Regions from separate parts of the Homo sapiens genome. Here region 2 is linked to region 1. The links are contacts of gene promoters, found by promoter capture Hi-C in blood cells and fetal thymus (Javierre and others, 2016). All regions are on one chromosome and are shown on one strand. Each heading gives the region's core, a stretch centred on a gene start or on the middle of the fragment in contact. The rest is flanking DNA. Distances are from core to core; before and after follow the strand shown. Region 1 holds the start of THAP9 (THAP domain containing 9). Region 2 has its middle 3.7 kb from the start of G3BP2.

What was found. Contacts are between HindIII fragments. The CHiCAGO score rates a contact against its expected background, and 5 or more counts as called.
Region 2: a fragment that was not itself captured here is called in contact with the fragment with the promoter of THAP9 in region 1 in 1 of 17 cell types (neutrophils); the score reaches 5.2 in neutrophils.

Annotation. Positions count from the first base shown.
Region 1 is chr4:82,894,721-82,901,984 of GRCh38, reverse strand. It overlaps THAP9 (THAP domain containing 9), which reads right to left and starts at 1,250. Exons shown (of 5, transcript NM_024672.6): 1 at 1,103-1,250. The coding sequence starts at 1,182. It overlaps THAP9-AS1 (THAP9 antisense RNA 1), which reads left to right and starts at 1,069. Exons shown (of 4, transcript NR_034077.1): 1 at 1,069-1,651; 2 at 1,762-1,908; 3 at 6,211-6,293; 4 at 7,138-7,264. SNORD143 (small nucleolar RNA, C/D box 143) reads left to right here and starts at 6,057; the gene lies at 6,057-6,132. SNORD144 (small nucleolar RNA, C/D box 144) reads left to right here and starts at 3,760; the gene lies at 3,760-3,845. It also overlaps a transcript of SEC31A not described here. RefSeq lists a silencer at 891-1,240 and enhancers at 766-1,285, 1,551-1,670, 1,286-1,805. The HindIII fragment of the contact is 4,998 bases long and covers 1-4,454 here.
Region 2 is chr4:75,673,526-75,680,789 of GRCh38, reverse strand. It overlaps a transcript of G3BP2 not described here. Among named protein-coding and RNA genes, the nearest start is that of G3BP2, 3.7 kb to the right of the region's middle. RefSeq lists enhancers at 4,589-5,565, 5,566-6,543. The HindIII fragment of the contact is 4,310 bases long and covers 3,621-7,264 here.

The sequences.
Region 1 (7,264 bases), core at 1-2,500:
AAAGTCTTACGTTTTAGTTTTACAAAATTCTACAAGGCAGGTTTTTATTCCTCTTACAGAAGAAGAAACCAAGACCCAGAGCCAAGTACAGACATCAGTAAATACTCAATTAAAATTGGAATTCATGTCTCCCTAGTTTAAAACTACCTCTATCACAAGAAAAATCCCAAATCAATTATGGTCTCACATACACAATGAGTTGGTTCACACTGCTAACAATTTAGGTGGAGGAATCAGCCCTATTTAAAAAATAGAAAACAAAAAAAAAAAAAAATCAATGAATTTTATACATAGCCTACCATACATACTCTAAACTCCTTAACCTGGCATTTACATTTTTAAAATGGTTTCTCAGGTACTTTTCCACTCCTCTATATTTGCACTTTCTATCCTTTACATTTTCCCATGCCATTCCTAACTACCCTCTTCCTACCCCCCCTTTCCAACCATAAAGTTCTTTTTGATCTTTCCATAAATCTGCTCCTTTTGTCTGTGAGGATCTATTTTACCCACTTTTCTACTTGCTAGTGTACCCTGAATACTGAATGACCTATACCAGTCTGAACCATGGATATGAGTTCAGATAAGACTGATCTGAAATTCTTCCCCACTGTCGAGCCAAATGAAACTTCCCTGCCATGATCAAATCCAGCCAGAATCGGACCGGCCTTGCACAGCTCGGCTAACAGCACTTAAGAACTTGCAATGTCAGGCAGTACAGGAGAAAACTGATCTGTACTCGTGCTCAGGAAGACGCCACACACACACTTCAACCGTTGTCCTAAACTGCCTTCCCTTTCGGCCTCCTCACTTCAAATAATAAGACCATCCAATTAATGGAGGACTCCTTTCGCGTAACTCTCCTTAAAGCGGTAGGCGGTGCGAGAACCGGCTATTCAGAGGTAAACACTGGGCGGGAAGAGAGAGAATCTCAATTCTCACAGTGCCCCAATTCCGCTCCCACGCCCCGACGCTGCGCACGTCACGTCGCGTCACACACGCGGCGCGACCCACAGTGCGGCCCGGCCCCGCCCCACGCCACGCCACGGCCCGCCGGGCCCCGCAGGGAGTTCGAAGGCTTCGAGGCTGCTCCCATACGCACTGGTGGAAGGAGAGGCCGCGCTCCCGGCTGAGCACGGTGTCACGGGTGCTGCAGCCCACTGCGGAGCAACTTCGGGTCATCTTCTTGTTACGTGGGGCCCCACCTTCGGGGTTCCCGCGACAGCATGAATCACGACCACTTTAGCTCCGCCCGTTGACTCTGCGGCTACGACCTTTATTTGTCACGAAAGGCGGGCTTTAGAGGCGCGGGACTTCCACACTTCCTCTCCGAAGGCCCTGCGCCGGTGCCGTAGCCAATGACAGGCCACGTTGTGTCCCAGCAGCCAATCGGAAGGGCCTGAGCCTGAAGACGTGCATTTGACCGCTCCTCCCTCCGCGTTGGAGGCGGAATAGTGGGTTTTGCTGCAACCGGTTTATTTTCCTTCTGTTTTCACCCATTCTGGCACAATCTGGCGCCATCGTCCTTCTTGTGAGGCCAAGCCTGAAAATGCGAAGCAGAGAGGCAGGACCAAAATTGAGGCGAATCCAGGAACCTGCCAATGGGTCTCCGGGTGCGGTCTCTGAAACTGGAGGATATCGGGAGGAAAGGGTATGGAAGAGGGATAAAACACGGTGCCTTAGGTGTGTTGAAGACAGAGTCGGGCCAAAAATATATGATTTACTGAGATGCGTGTCGTGTTCTTGCGCTTTATCTTGTAGCTCTCCGATGCGGAGATAATGGGGAAGCTCTTGGCATGGTTGGCTGTAGGTATGTGATACCGGAGGAGCAGGAGTCAAATAGGATACGCCGACTTTTAATTCAAGGAACCCTTTTCTGAAACACTTTGCCACAATGAAGGAAATAAGGTAAGGTTCTTGGGGCTCCTCAGTAGTAATAGGGGCAGGGGACAAGGGGCAATTAAGTGGTTTTGGTTGGGAATGAGGCATTATGAATAGCTTTCAGGAGATAGAGCTTAGAACAATGTCTTAGTTATAAGCTCTTATGTTTGAGGAAGAGATTTCAATTTGCTTAGAGAAGGAAACGGGCCAGTGGGTTTTTGTCTCTGAGAAGGAGATCCTTAGCATACAGAAAACAGAGAAGGGTTTGCAACTTTTCCGTTTCTTTGTATAGCACACAAAAATAATTCCAAATATCCAGGCCTAACAAGATTGCTTCTTTTTCCCCTTTGTGTTTACTTTGTCCAGATTACAGCCGAAGATACATATTAAGGTATTACTTATTCACACCAGTTTTCCATTATAATATGCTTGTATCTTCTCTGAATGGAATTAATAGCTTTTGGTTATGGTTCCTTAAAAGTCACATGGCCTAAGGATAGATGGTCAAGGAACTTTGGAAAAATTGGTCCCTGGGGGATGTGCAGGGCAAATACTTTTTGGCTGTAAGGTGTGTGCAGAGAGTAAGAACTGGATTTAAATACTGTAAGTTGGTTGGGCTGTTAGAGCCTTTTCCTGCTCAACCAATTAAGACCCGAGTGAGGCTGAATAAAAATAACATTGTTTTTAGCTATCTTTAAGGAAAAAATTAGTTGCCTTATATTTTTGTAACAGTTTTACTCAGATATAATTCTCATACCACACAACTAATTGGTTTAAAGTGTACAATTCAGTGGGTTTTAGTATATGCACAGAATTGTGGAACAGTCACAATCAATATTAGAACATTTTCATCACTCCAGAAAGAAACCTCATTCTTACTAGCAGCACCTCCAAATATTCCCCCACCCCGCTCAGCAAACACTAATTTAGTTTCCGTGTGCCTCTGCCTGCTCTGTACACTTCATGTAAGTGGAATTATGAACTAATATATGGTCTTTGTGACTGGCTTCTTTCACTTGGAATGTTTTCAGAGTTCATCCATCTTATAGCACGTATCAGTACTTTATTTTTTATTGCTGAATCGTACTCCATTTTATGGATGTAGCAGATTTTGTTTATCCGTTCAACAGTTGGTGGACATTTGGGTTTTCCAATTTTTTTTTTTACTATTATGAACATTTGTGTACAAGTTTTTGTGTGGACAAATGTTTTCATTTTCCTGATTACACACCTAAGAGTGGAATTGGTGAGTCATAAGATAACTGTGTTTAGCTTCTTGAGGAAGTGCCAGATTATTTTCCCTAGTGGCTGCACCATTTTACATTCCCACCAGCAGTGGATGAGGCTGCCAGTTTCTCCACATTTTTGTGCATGTGAAGTGGCTGTCTCATCGTGGTGTTTGCCTTTTCTTAAGGACTCAAAAGTTTGCAGATACAGGCATTCACTTGCCATTTTCTTAAGGTAGAGTTGAAAGTACTGCTGCCAGTTCATCATCTGAAATGAGGGCTGTTTTCTTTCCTGTTTAATTGGATTGCAACTATTTGCCTTTCCTAAAGATGAAATAGTGTGCTTCCTACATTATTCTGACAACATTCCTTTAATTGTTAATTTCAGATGAATTTCTGAAAACTGCTTTTATCAGAACAGATTTACTTAAATGAAGGCAATAGCCGCAAGGGGTCACTGCTCTAGATATTTACTTCTGCATAGGAAATAAGTAATCCTTTATAGATGGAATTTTTTTTTCTTAGTTGTATTTTTGTATCTTTACATTTGTTTATAACTTATCTATACTTTTTTTGTTGTTGTGATTATTTTACTGTTGACATGGAAGTTCTCAATCTGATCATTTGGTTATATCATTGCTTCTTCTAGTAACTTCATATCCAGTGATTAAACCTTTTCACTGCTGTTCACATAATGAACCGTTGTGATTATTGAATACTTAAATGAGGATATGTAAGCTGTATTAAAGATAGTGTTATTTGCAAAGGCATTGACTATTGCACAAAAAATTTTAAAAGAAAATATCTCTTTTCAGGAATTGTACTCTCAGAGATGTTGAGAAAAGATACATGGGTCTTGGAAGATAATTACTCAAAATATGCAGGGAAGGTAGTATATCTTTCTATTTTAAATGTATTAAGTATTCCTGGAACTATAGCAGTGAGTTGGAAATGGAGGATTGTCCAAGTAAAAAACATTTATTAAGGCTTTAATGAAATCTACCTATTTTATGGTATATAATCTCATTAATTGTCCACTTGGAAAGAATAATAACAGATATTTATTTATTGGCCAGTTACTATGGGCCACAAATTATGCTGAGCTTTTTTTAATTTCATTTCATTTTATTTTATTTTTTGAGATGGGGTCTCACTCTGTCACCCAGGCTGGAGTGCAGTGGCGCAATCTCAGCTTATTGCAACCTCTGTCTTCCAGGCCCAAGCAATCTTCCCACCTCAGCTTCCTAAGTAGCTGGGACCACATGCATGTACCACTACACCTGGCTAATTTTTTTTTGTATATTTGGTAGAGACAGGGTTTTACCATGTTGCCCAGGCTGCTAAGCTTTTTATATACAGTATATAGAAAGAGTTGGTTTTCTTAAACAATATTTATTTCTCATAATAACTCTATGAAAGCAGGTATAGACTTCTTGCTTTCTAGGGTTGGTATCTTGCTTGTTGAGGACCTACCCTTTTGTGTTGCCGAATTTTTCATTGTTTGAGTTCTGTCTTTTGTTTCAGAAAGCCATGGAGTTTTGAAATTATTGTTATATCATTATTTGTTACATAATTATTTCTACTTCTAGAATCTCATGCTAACTTGGAAGTGTCTTCTCAGCATCAAGCCTGATATGGAGGGGCAGCTACACCCTAATACGCTCCAAAACTAGTTATGCTTTGTTTTATACGTAATGCTTCTGTTATTAGACAAGTGGTTTCCAAATATCAGAAGCAGTGCTAGGACTTAAAGGAAAAGGGGGAGTGTTTTTTCTTCTAATAGAACTTTTGAGCAGTGATGAAAGGAAAACAAGAAGACTCAAAAGATTATAAATCTCAGGCACGAATTAGTGTTCTGCCAATTAGGAACATTCTGATTGCTTGACAAGGTCTATATTTTGCTGATGAGGAGTAGAAGCCTGTGGGAGGTGGGGGTGGAAGCAGCAGAAGGAAAAGAGTAGCAAGTATTTAGTAAAATGTATTCATCATAGTGGATAAAAATCAAGCTTTGGGGAAAAAGGTCAAACTCCTTCAATGATGCTGTACATCTGTACCTTTACTCCATCCTATAGCAAATATTTGTATAACTGCACAGAAGAAATTGGACAATATTCCTTGAAAAATTCTTAGAAAGTTCAACTTTCCAAGTTAGTATCACCCCAAGGAAAATTATATGAGTAGGAATACCTAATTTCTAGCCATACTCTAGTTCCAATTAGCTTCTCTAAGTAGCTGGAACTGCAGGCGTGTGCCACCACACCTGGCTAATTTTTTGTATTTTTGGTAGAGAAGGGGTTTTGCCGTGTTGCCCAGGCTGCTAAGATTTTTATATATAGTGTATAGAAAGAGTTGGTTTTCTTGGCCAGGCATGGTGGCTCGCACCTGTAATCCCAGCACTTTGAAAGGCTAAGGCAGGTGAATCACCTGAGCTCAGGAGTTCAAGACCAGCCTGGCCAACATGGCGAAACTCCGTCTCTACTAAAAATACAAAAATTAGCCGGGCATGGTGGCACGCACCTGTAACCCCAGCTACTTGGGAGGCCAAGGCAGGAGAACCACTTGAACCCAGGAGGTGGAGGTTGCAGTGGGCCAAGATTGGCCACTGCACTCCAGCCTGGGTGACAGAGCAAGACTCTGTCTCAAAAAAGAAAGAGTTGGTTCTGTTAAACAATATTTATTTCTCATAATAACCCTATGAAAGCAGATACAGACTTCTGGCTTTTTAGGATTGGTATTTCACTTGTTGAACACCTACCCTTGTGTCAGATGTATAGCAGGTTAACAAAGTCAATACAGTGATACACTTGACATAATCTTTGTTCTGAGTTTTTTTCCCAATTATAGTAAAATTGGAGGTCTTAACTGTTCTACATTAGATAAATATATGCATTTGTTTTAAAGAGCTAAGCAATGAGAATCTTACAACTAGAGCTGAAGTTCAAGAAATAAATGTCCAATGATTAAATTTTTTCCACTGCTGTTCACATCATGATTTGTTGTGATTAATGTATGTGGATGAGGACATAATAGAAAAAGAAAATGATGAGACTTGTATATATTGTGTTTCTGCACAATGAGTTCCTTTGAATGTTTTTCGTTTTAGGAATAAAATTGAAGGGTGTTTTTCTTAGAGAACATCATTTGTCATATTTATTTGATCAAGAAGTTGAAGATTTATATAATAAGGTATGGGACTTACACATTTATTTTGATAAAAGAACACAGAAAAGGTCAGGTATGAGCAGAAAATTGACATTTATTTCAGCCTAATGTGGATACTGTACTCTGAATTAAAAATTTCTTTTCCTTACTCTTCCAGCTTTTAAAGATAAGTATTATTTCAAAATAGTATTTTTTTAATTAATAGATTCAATTCAGGAAAGGCATTGGAGGGGGTGGAGCTTTTAACTTTGACAGTCTCACTCTGTTGCCCAGGCTGGAGTGCAGCGGCGCAATCTCTGCTCACTGCAATCTCTGCCTCCTGGGTTCAAATAGTTATTGTGGCCCAGCTTCCCAAGTGGCTGGGATTAGAGGCGCATGCCACCACACCCAGCTAATTTTTTTTATTAAGTAGAGACCATGTTTTGCCATGTTGGCCAGACTGGTCTCAAACTTCCAGCCACCAACCTCAGCCTCCCAAAGTGCTGGGATTATAGTCATAAGCCACCACACCTGGCTGTTGGTTATCTTTTCTTAGAAATAATGATATAATCTTTTCAGCACCTGATATTCTTAAAGATCCAGGGTTTACAAATGACTGTTAGATATGCCAAGGATGACTAGCCTATAACTTAAGGATCTGTTCAGGAACAGTAGAAAAGAAGGTGATAGGAAACTGGGAATCTTAAATCTAATACTAGTTCTGTCATGAATTAGGCTTGTTATTGTAGTTGTTTCTCAAATTTAAGAAAATATGAGGGGTCTTGAAAAAGTGCATGGAAAATGCATATCATGAAAAAACTATGCATGGATTTCAAAATTTTTGGACCAAAATAAACTCCTACTAACTTGTTATAACATGTCTGAACAGGATCTAGTTTGAAGCACTAAGAAGAATAAGACATCAGTTTGAAAAGAGGCTCTATCAGAACAACACGAATTCTGCTAAAATTGAAGCAAGAACAAACATCAAATATATGTTGACACTTGGGTGGAAG
Region 2 (7,264 bases), core at 4,526-7,025, 7.2 Mb after region 1:
TTTCACCATGTTGGCCAGGATGGTCTTGATTTCTTGACCTCGCGATCCGCCCGCCTCAGCCTCCCAAAGTGCTGGGATTACAGGCGTGAGCCACTGCGCCTGGCTAGGCCACAGTTTCTTTACACTGCCAAACAACCAAGTATTTGTCCCAAGAGGAGAGTGGGAAATGGAAGGATGGATGGGAAACCTGGCTAGCTGTCTATGAAGTTGCGTGGCACTGTGTTGGGGTCCCCTGATGTTGAAGGTTTGCCTCGGTTTTATAACAGGAATCATGCACATATACACACTTTGCCAGAAAGTATGCTAAATGCCATAAAGAATCTTCAGAACAATCCTAAGTAGGCTGTTTATCCACTGAGGAAAGTCAAGGTCAGAGGAATGAACTAACCTGACTAGTGTCACAGAAGTAGTTAGTGAAGAAAATGCGATTTGATCCCATGTGTTTCATGCTTCTATATTTAAGTGGAGGATTTGCTCTCAGCCCTGACTTCTTTCAGTACAACTTCCTATCCCCCCTCAGAAGGAAATCTGTCTCTGACACACTCTTTTATATTAACTTAATCTATAAGAGACTGATGAACAAACCACAGGAATTCCATTTCACAAAGGGATATGCCATCCAAAGACATAGAATATCTGCTGATCAGGCCCCCTTCTCTGTGTCACAGTGCTTGGTGAGGAGAGAATTGGATAACCTTGTGGCGTCTCATATCCAGACTGTAAGGCTTGAAGAATTAAACACACCCTGCAGCCCACTGAGGGCTAGGATATTCCTGCCTGACAAATATAGTCTATCTTGGACAGTGTGAGATAAACACTGGTGAAATATTTCCTCTTTTCAAAGTCATTTTCTGGATTCAGGGCAAATGCCTCCTCATTCATTTATGTTATCTTTAGTTGTTCTGCTTTCCAGGATTATTTTATCTCTGAAAAGCACCTCATTTACTCAGCCTGAGGTGCTTTTAGCTGGCATCATGGCTTCAAGAGTGTTAAATGGAATCCGTTAGAATTCACAAATTCAGGGTGGGTTATTTTCATAATTGATAATCTGATTCTTTGTATGTTGATTTTTTTATGAGACTATTGCCTCTAAATTCTGAAGAAGTGACTTTCTTAGAACTTGCAACCTTTGTTCTCTCAAACTCAGGTAGCATGTAGAATCTCACCTACTTATAGACTTTCATAGATATGATCAAAACAAGTTACATACCTAAAATCTACCACCTATAGCAGTCATTCATATTGTGACATTTTGTACTTCATCACACAGATTGGCAGGCCATTTCATGCACTTTTCTGGATGTGAGACATATTTTACACACTCACAATGATTGGAGAGGAAAACACTCCTTTATACCCTAACCTGTCCCAGCCTCACAAACAGATAATGGCTGGAAAGATTGCAGGGAGAAATTAACATTTGATTCTTTCTTTAGGTCATAATAGGCTTTCTCCTCTCTTGCTCTAAAATGAATGGATTCATCCTACTCATGGGAGTAGGTTTCTCTGTGCATTAAAAAGCTTTGTAAAGGATCCAGTTGCACCAAGAGAGAGCCCTGGGATTCTCAAGTAACATGTTTTCAATCAGTAAGTCTTGTTCAAAGTCTATAAAAGTTCATCATTTAGCAGTAGGACATGGTGTAGTGGCATGAGTCAGAGGGACTCTGGGCTCTCTTTCTAAATTGGCCATTTTTAGCCTTGTGCAGCTTGCCTGCTTTGTGAATTGCTGTGAAATTGAAATGAGATAATGTGTTTGAAAGTGTTTTGAAAACTGTAAAATGCTATACAAATGTAAGTTGTTACTTCAGAACAAAGCAGTGGGCAGTCTGCGAAAAAGGAATCAGTTGAAAGCAATTGGTGCATATACTTTTTCAAGAACCAAACATTAAGTGCCGATGTTTATTGAGCACTTACCATGTGCCAGACACTGTTAAAATGTTTTACATGTATTGTCTAAACCTTACTGTACCCTAATAAGGTAGATATTATTATTGTCCCCATTTTACAGATGAGAAACACTGAGGCACATAAAAGTGAAACATCCTGCCTATAGTGATATACCTAGTAAGTGATGAGATAAAGCTGGGATTCAAATCCAGGCAGTGTGGTTCTGGAGCCCAGATTCTTTTTTATTTTTTTTGGAAATGGGGTCTTGCTATATTGCCCAGGCTGAACTCAAACTCCTGGGTTCAAGTGATCCTCCTGCTTCAGCTTCCCAAGTAGTGGGGACAACAAGCATACCCCATTGTGCCCAGCCAGACTCTTTAAATACTATGCTGTTGACAGCATTATCATTTGTTTTAGTCTATTTGGGCTGCTATAACAAAATACCTTTAGGTCAGGTGTGGCTCATGCCCGTAATCTCAACACTTTGGGAGCCTGAGGCAAGAGGATGGCCTGAGGCCAGGCAATCAAGACCAGATTGGGCAACATAATGAGACCCTGTGTACACACACACACACACACACACACACACACACACACACACACACAAGCTAGGCACGGTAGTGCACACCTGTGGTCCCAGCTACTCAGGAGGCTGAGAAGTCGAGGCTGCAATGAGCTATGATCGCACCATTGCACTCCAGCCAGGTGACAGACAAAGCAAGAACCTGTCTCAAACAACAACAACAACAACAACAACAAAACCACCCTTCAACTGGGTAACTTATAAACAACAGAAACTTATTGCTTATAGTTCTAAAGGCTGAGTAGTTCAAGATCAAAGGGCCAACCCTAGTGAGGGCTTGCTCTGCTTCAAAGATGGTGCCTTCTTGCTGTGTTCTCACATGGTGAAAGGGGCAAAAGCACAAAAGAGACTAATGAACTCCCTCAATCCCCTTTTATGAGCACACGAATTCCATTCATGAAGGTGAGGCCCTCATGACCTAGTTGCCGCCTGAAGGTCCCACCCACCTTTTAATACTTTTGCATTGGAGATTAAGTTTCAACATGAATTTTGGAGGGGCACATACATTCAATCCACAGCATCATCCTTCCTAACTGAATTAGTAGTGGGGCCAAGACATTTGTTTTGCAAGCCTTAAAAGTTTAAAAACATGGTGAGTAAAGACACTTTCCAAGAAAAATGCGTTTCCCTTAAGGACTTGGATTTTACTCCCTTCCAATGCTTGGTCTTCATAAACCTTATTTATGTGGGGTGTGTGACCCCTAAACATGCATGTAGTCATCTCTTTTTTTTTTTATTTTTTATTTTTTGAGACAGAGTCTCGCTCTGTTGCCCAGGCTGGAGTGAAGTGGTGCGATCTCGGGTTACCACAACCTCCGCCTCCTGGGTTCAAGTGATTCTCCTGCCTCAGCCTCCCCAGTAGCTGGGACTACAGGTGCGCACCACCATGCCTGGCTAATTTTTGTATTTTTAGTAGAGACGGGGTTTCACTATGTTGGCCAGGCTGGTCTCGAACTCCTGACCTCGTGATCCACCCACCTGGGCCTCCCAAAGTGTTGGGGTTACAGGCGTGAACCACTGCGCCCAGCCGCATGTAGTCATCTCGTATACACCTACTTCATCAGCAAAAGTGGTGATAATGGACTTGGTTGATCTTTTAGTATTCAGTAAAGTTGAGAATGGTCAAATGAAAGGGTGTAGAGGAAAAGCTTTATAAATTCAAATGTCTTATCTTATTCAAATACTTATCTAAGTATTTTATGCTGAAGTTTATAATAAAAATCAGGAATCAGGTAATATAATTCTAGTAATTTTACTTTTAAAAATTTACCTGCTAATGGTGATTGGGTCTGATTCATTTACTTTTATTTTTCACAGTGTTTTGATAAAGGTTCACATTAAAGGCCTTGGGGTGGTAATGTGATGAGAATGTCAAAGGAAGAGCTGGCTGGGGTGGTGTGAGAAAACCAGTGGTAAGAAAAGAAATGGAAGTAATAGGTAAGGACTAGATCAGGTAGGCCTTGTAGGCCATGGTAAGGACCTGAGATTTTGTGTTGCCTTTTAAAGGTTTTGGGACCATCTCAATTATAACTATGAAAGATCTGGCTGCTGTGAGGGGAACAGACTGTAGTGGAATAAGAGTGGAAGCATTGAGGCCAAGTAGAAAGCTATTGCAATAGGCAATGGTGGCCTGGACTACTATAGCAGCAGTAACAGTGATGCAAAGTATTTAATCCAGAATAAATGTTGAAGGTAGAGGGAACAGAAATGTATTGACAATTCGGCGAAGTGGGTGGATCACTTGAGGTCAGGAGTTCGAGATCAACCTGGCCAACATGGTGAAACCTCGTCTCTACTAAAAATAGAAAAATTAGATGGGCGTGGTGGCACATGCCTGTAGTCCTAGCCACTTGGGAGGCCAAGGCAGGAGAATGGCTTGAACCTGGGAGGTGGAGGTTGCAGTCAGCCCAGATCATGCCATTGCACTCCAGCCTGGATGACAGAGCGAGACTCCATCTCAAAAAAAAAAAAAAAAAAAAAAAATTATTGGCAATTGGCTGTCAATAAATTGGTGTGAGAAAAAGAGGTTTTTGGCCTGAGCCACCGAATGAATACCGTTCACACTGGTCTCCCTGCCTAGTCTATAGGAGGTGGACATTGCTTCATGGAGGCTATGTTTGAGAGGCAGGGAGATTAGTTAGGAGGCCACTGCAGTCTTCCTGGGAAGATGAAGGGGCCTGAACCTGGGCAGGGGCTATTTGTGTAGAGATATGTTTATGAGGTAAAAATCGCCAGTTAGAATAGGTTAGAGATATTTACTTAACATTGAAGATCGCTGAATCTTTTTTCCCATTAACTCCACTTATTGGTGTCTACTCAAGAGCAGGGTTACCTGAGGGCTGTTTCTGTGTAGCTCTAGAGCTAAACTAAAAATGTTTCTTAAATTTTTAAAGGATGCGAGAGAGAGAGGAATATGCAACAGAAACCATACGTGGCGCTCAAAACCAAAAATATTTACTATCTAATCCTTCCCTTATCAAACCGTTTGCCCACCTCTGCCCTAGATCAGTGGTGTTTGTTTTTTTTGAGACGGAGTTTTCACTGTTGTCACCCAGGCTGGAGTGCAATAGCGCGATCTCAGCTCACCGCAACCTCCGCCTCCCAGGTTCAAGCGATTCTCCTGCCTCAGCCTCCCGAGTAGCTGGGATTACAGGCATGCGCCACCACGCCCGGCTAATTTTGTATTTTTAGTAGAGACGAGGTTTCTCCATGTTGGTCAGGCTGGTCTCAAACTCCTGACCTCAGGTGATCCGCCCCCCTCGGCCTTCCAAAGTGCTGGGATTACAGTCGTGAGCTGCCGCGCCCGGCCTATATCAGTGGTTTTTAAAGTGTGGCTCCTAGAGCAGCAGTAGCACCATCAGCTGAGAACTTGTTAGAAGTGCAAATTCTCGGGCCTCTGTTGAATCAGAAACTTAGGGAGTGGGGCCCAACTATCTGTTTTAACAAGCCCTACAGGTGATTTCGGTGCACATTAAGGTCTGAGAACCACTGCTCTAGAGAAAGTTCTGCACCTCTGCAGGATACATGGTGAAGAATATTTATAATAGCATTGCACGGAAGAGCTCCAAACCGGAAACACTTGAAGGTTAGTCAGCAGTAGGGCAGATAAGTGAATTGCGGCAATTAGTACAATGGGAGTATTCTATAGTTTGCCTGAGGGTATGGACTGTGGAGGCAGATTGCCTGTGTTTGAATCCCAGCTCCAGTGAATAGTAGCAGTGTAGTCCTGGGTAAGTTACTTGACCTCTCCAAGCCTGTTTTCTCATCTATAAAATGGGCATAAAAATAGCAACTACTGGCCGGGTGCGGTGGCTCACGCCTGTAATCCCAACACTTTAGGAGGCCAAGGCGGGCGGATCACGAGGTCAGGTGTGTTCGAGACCAGCCTGGCCAACATAGTGAAACCTCGTCTCTACTAAAAATATAAAAATTAGTTGGGTGTGGTGGCATGCGCCTGTAGTCCCAGCTACTAGGGAGCCTGAGGCAGGAGAACCGCTTGAACCCGGGAGGCGGAGGTTGCAGTGAGCCAAGACCGTGCCATTGCACTCCAGCCTGGGCGACACAGAGAGACTCCATCTTAAAAAAAAAAAAAAAAAAAAAATATATATATATATATATATATATGTACATACATATAGCAACTAGCTCATAGGGTTACTGTGAGGCTCAGAAGGCTGTATAATTACAAGAATGCCTGGTATATAAGCCCAGTATATTAAAGGACAGCCGGCATGTAATGTATTTTGATGCTTTAAGGAAAAACATCAGGTTGATTTCATTAAAGTGATGGTCTGCCCAAATATTTTGCATATAACAGTATCTTTAAGCAGTCTAAAGGTAAAGATATTGTAGACTTTGGAGGCCCTAATGTTGGCATTGCCTCTGCCAATATTTAAGGTATTTGACGTATTGTCTTAACATGCCAAATACCTTAAAATTGCCCTTACAGGATTGCGAAGAAAACTGATGAGATGTACATGCTTGCGTCCACCATGTTTAGTTCGTAAGCATTCATTAATGTATTTTTTCCTTTCCGTTTCTTTGAACACTTCCTCAGTCCTTCATTCCAAAATTCCTGTGCTATCTCGGTATTCTCTGAAAACACTGCCAGACCTAAGATGCAAAGTGGCTTCCTTGACTACAAGATTTGGCTTGGCTTTGTCCATGAAACAAGGTCACCAGTGTCTCACCCTGGGGGCAAGTCTGGGCTTAGAGCTAGAACAGGACTGTAATCCTTGTATTTCAGGCCTTCTTTTAGCTTTAGTATGTAAAATGCTTTAGTATCTACTGATATTTAGCCATGCCTAAATTCGTAACAAGGACACAAAGAAATAGTCTTTTCCCCCTCTGTAAAGCCCACGTCATGTTCTTCCTTTACTGCAGGGCCTCTTAATGGGGCTTAAAACCTAGGATGGGTTAAGTAAACAATGTAGGTGAGTTTAGTGTGCAAACAGCTGAAATCACCGGCTGCATTTTAAGCTCGTCTACAGCAGCAACCTGCAGACACCTATTCAGAGAGATTACTAAATTCCCTCCTTCCCATTAATAAAAAGGACCAGAATATCAGTCTACAAAAGACACTGCGTTGCTGCGAACCAGCTCTCGCTTGCGCGATCAGGAAGAAGGGCGGCAAGGCTGGAGCCTCGGGACCGGAGAAAGGCAGCCTGCTTGTGACGTCAAATCAGCGGACTCTTATCTTGGCTTTAGGCCGGTTCCGGTTCCCCGGCTTTCCGGGCGCGAGCGTGTGCGAGCGCGGCAGCGTACTGCGCGTGCTCCGCAGAGGGACACGGGAAG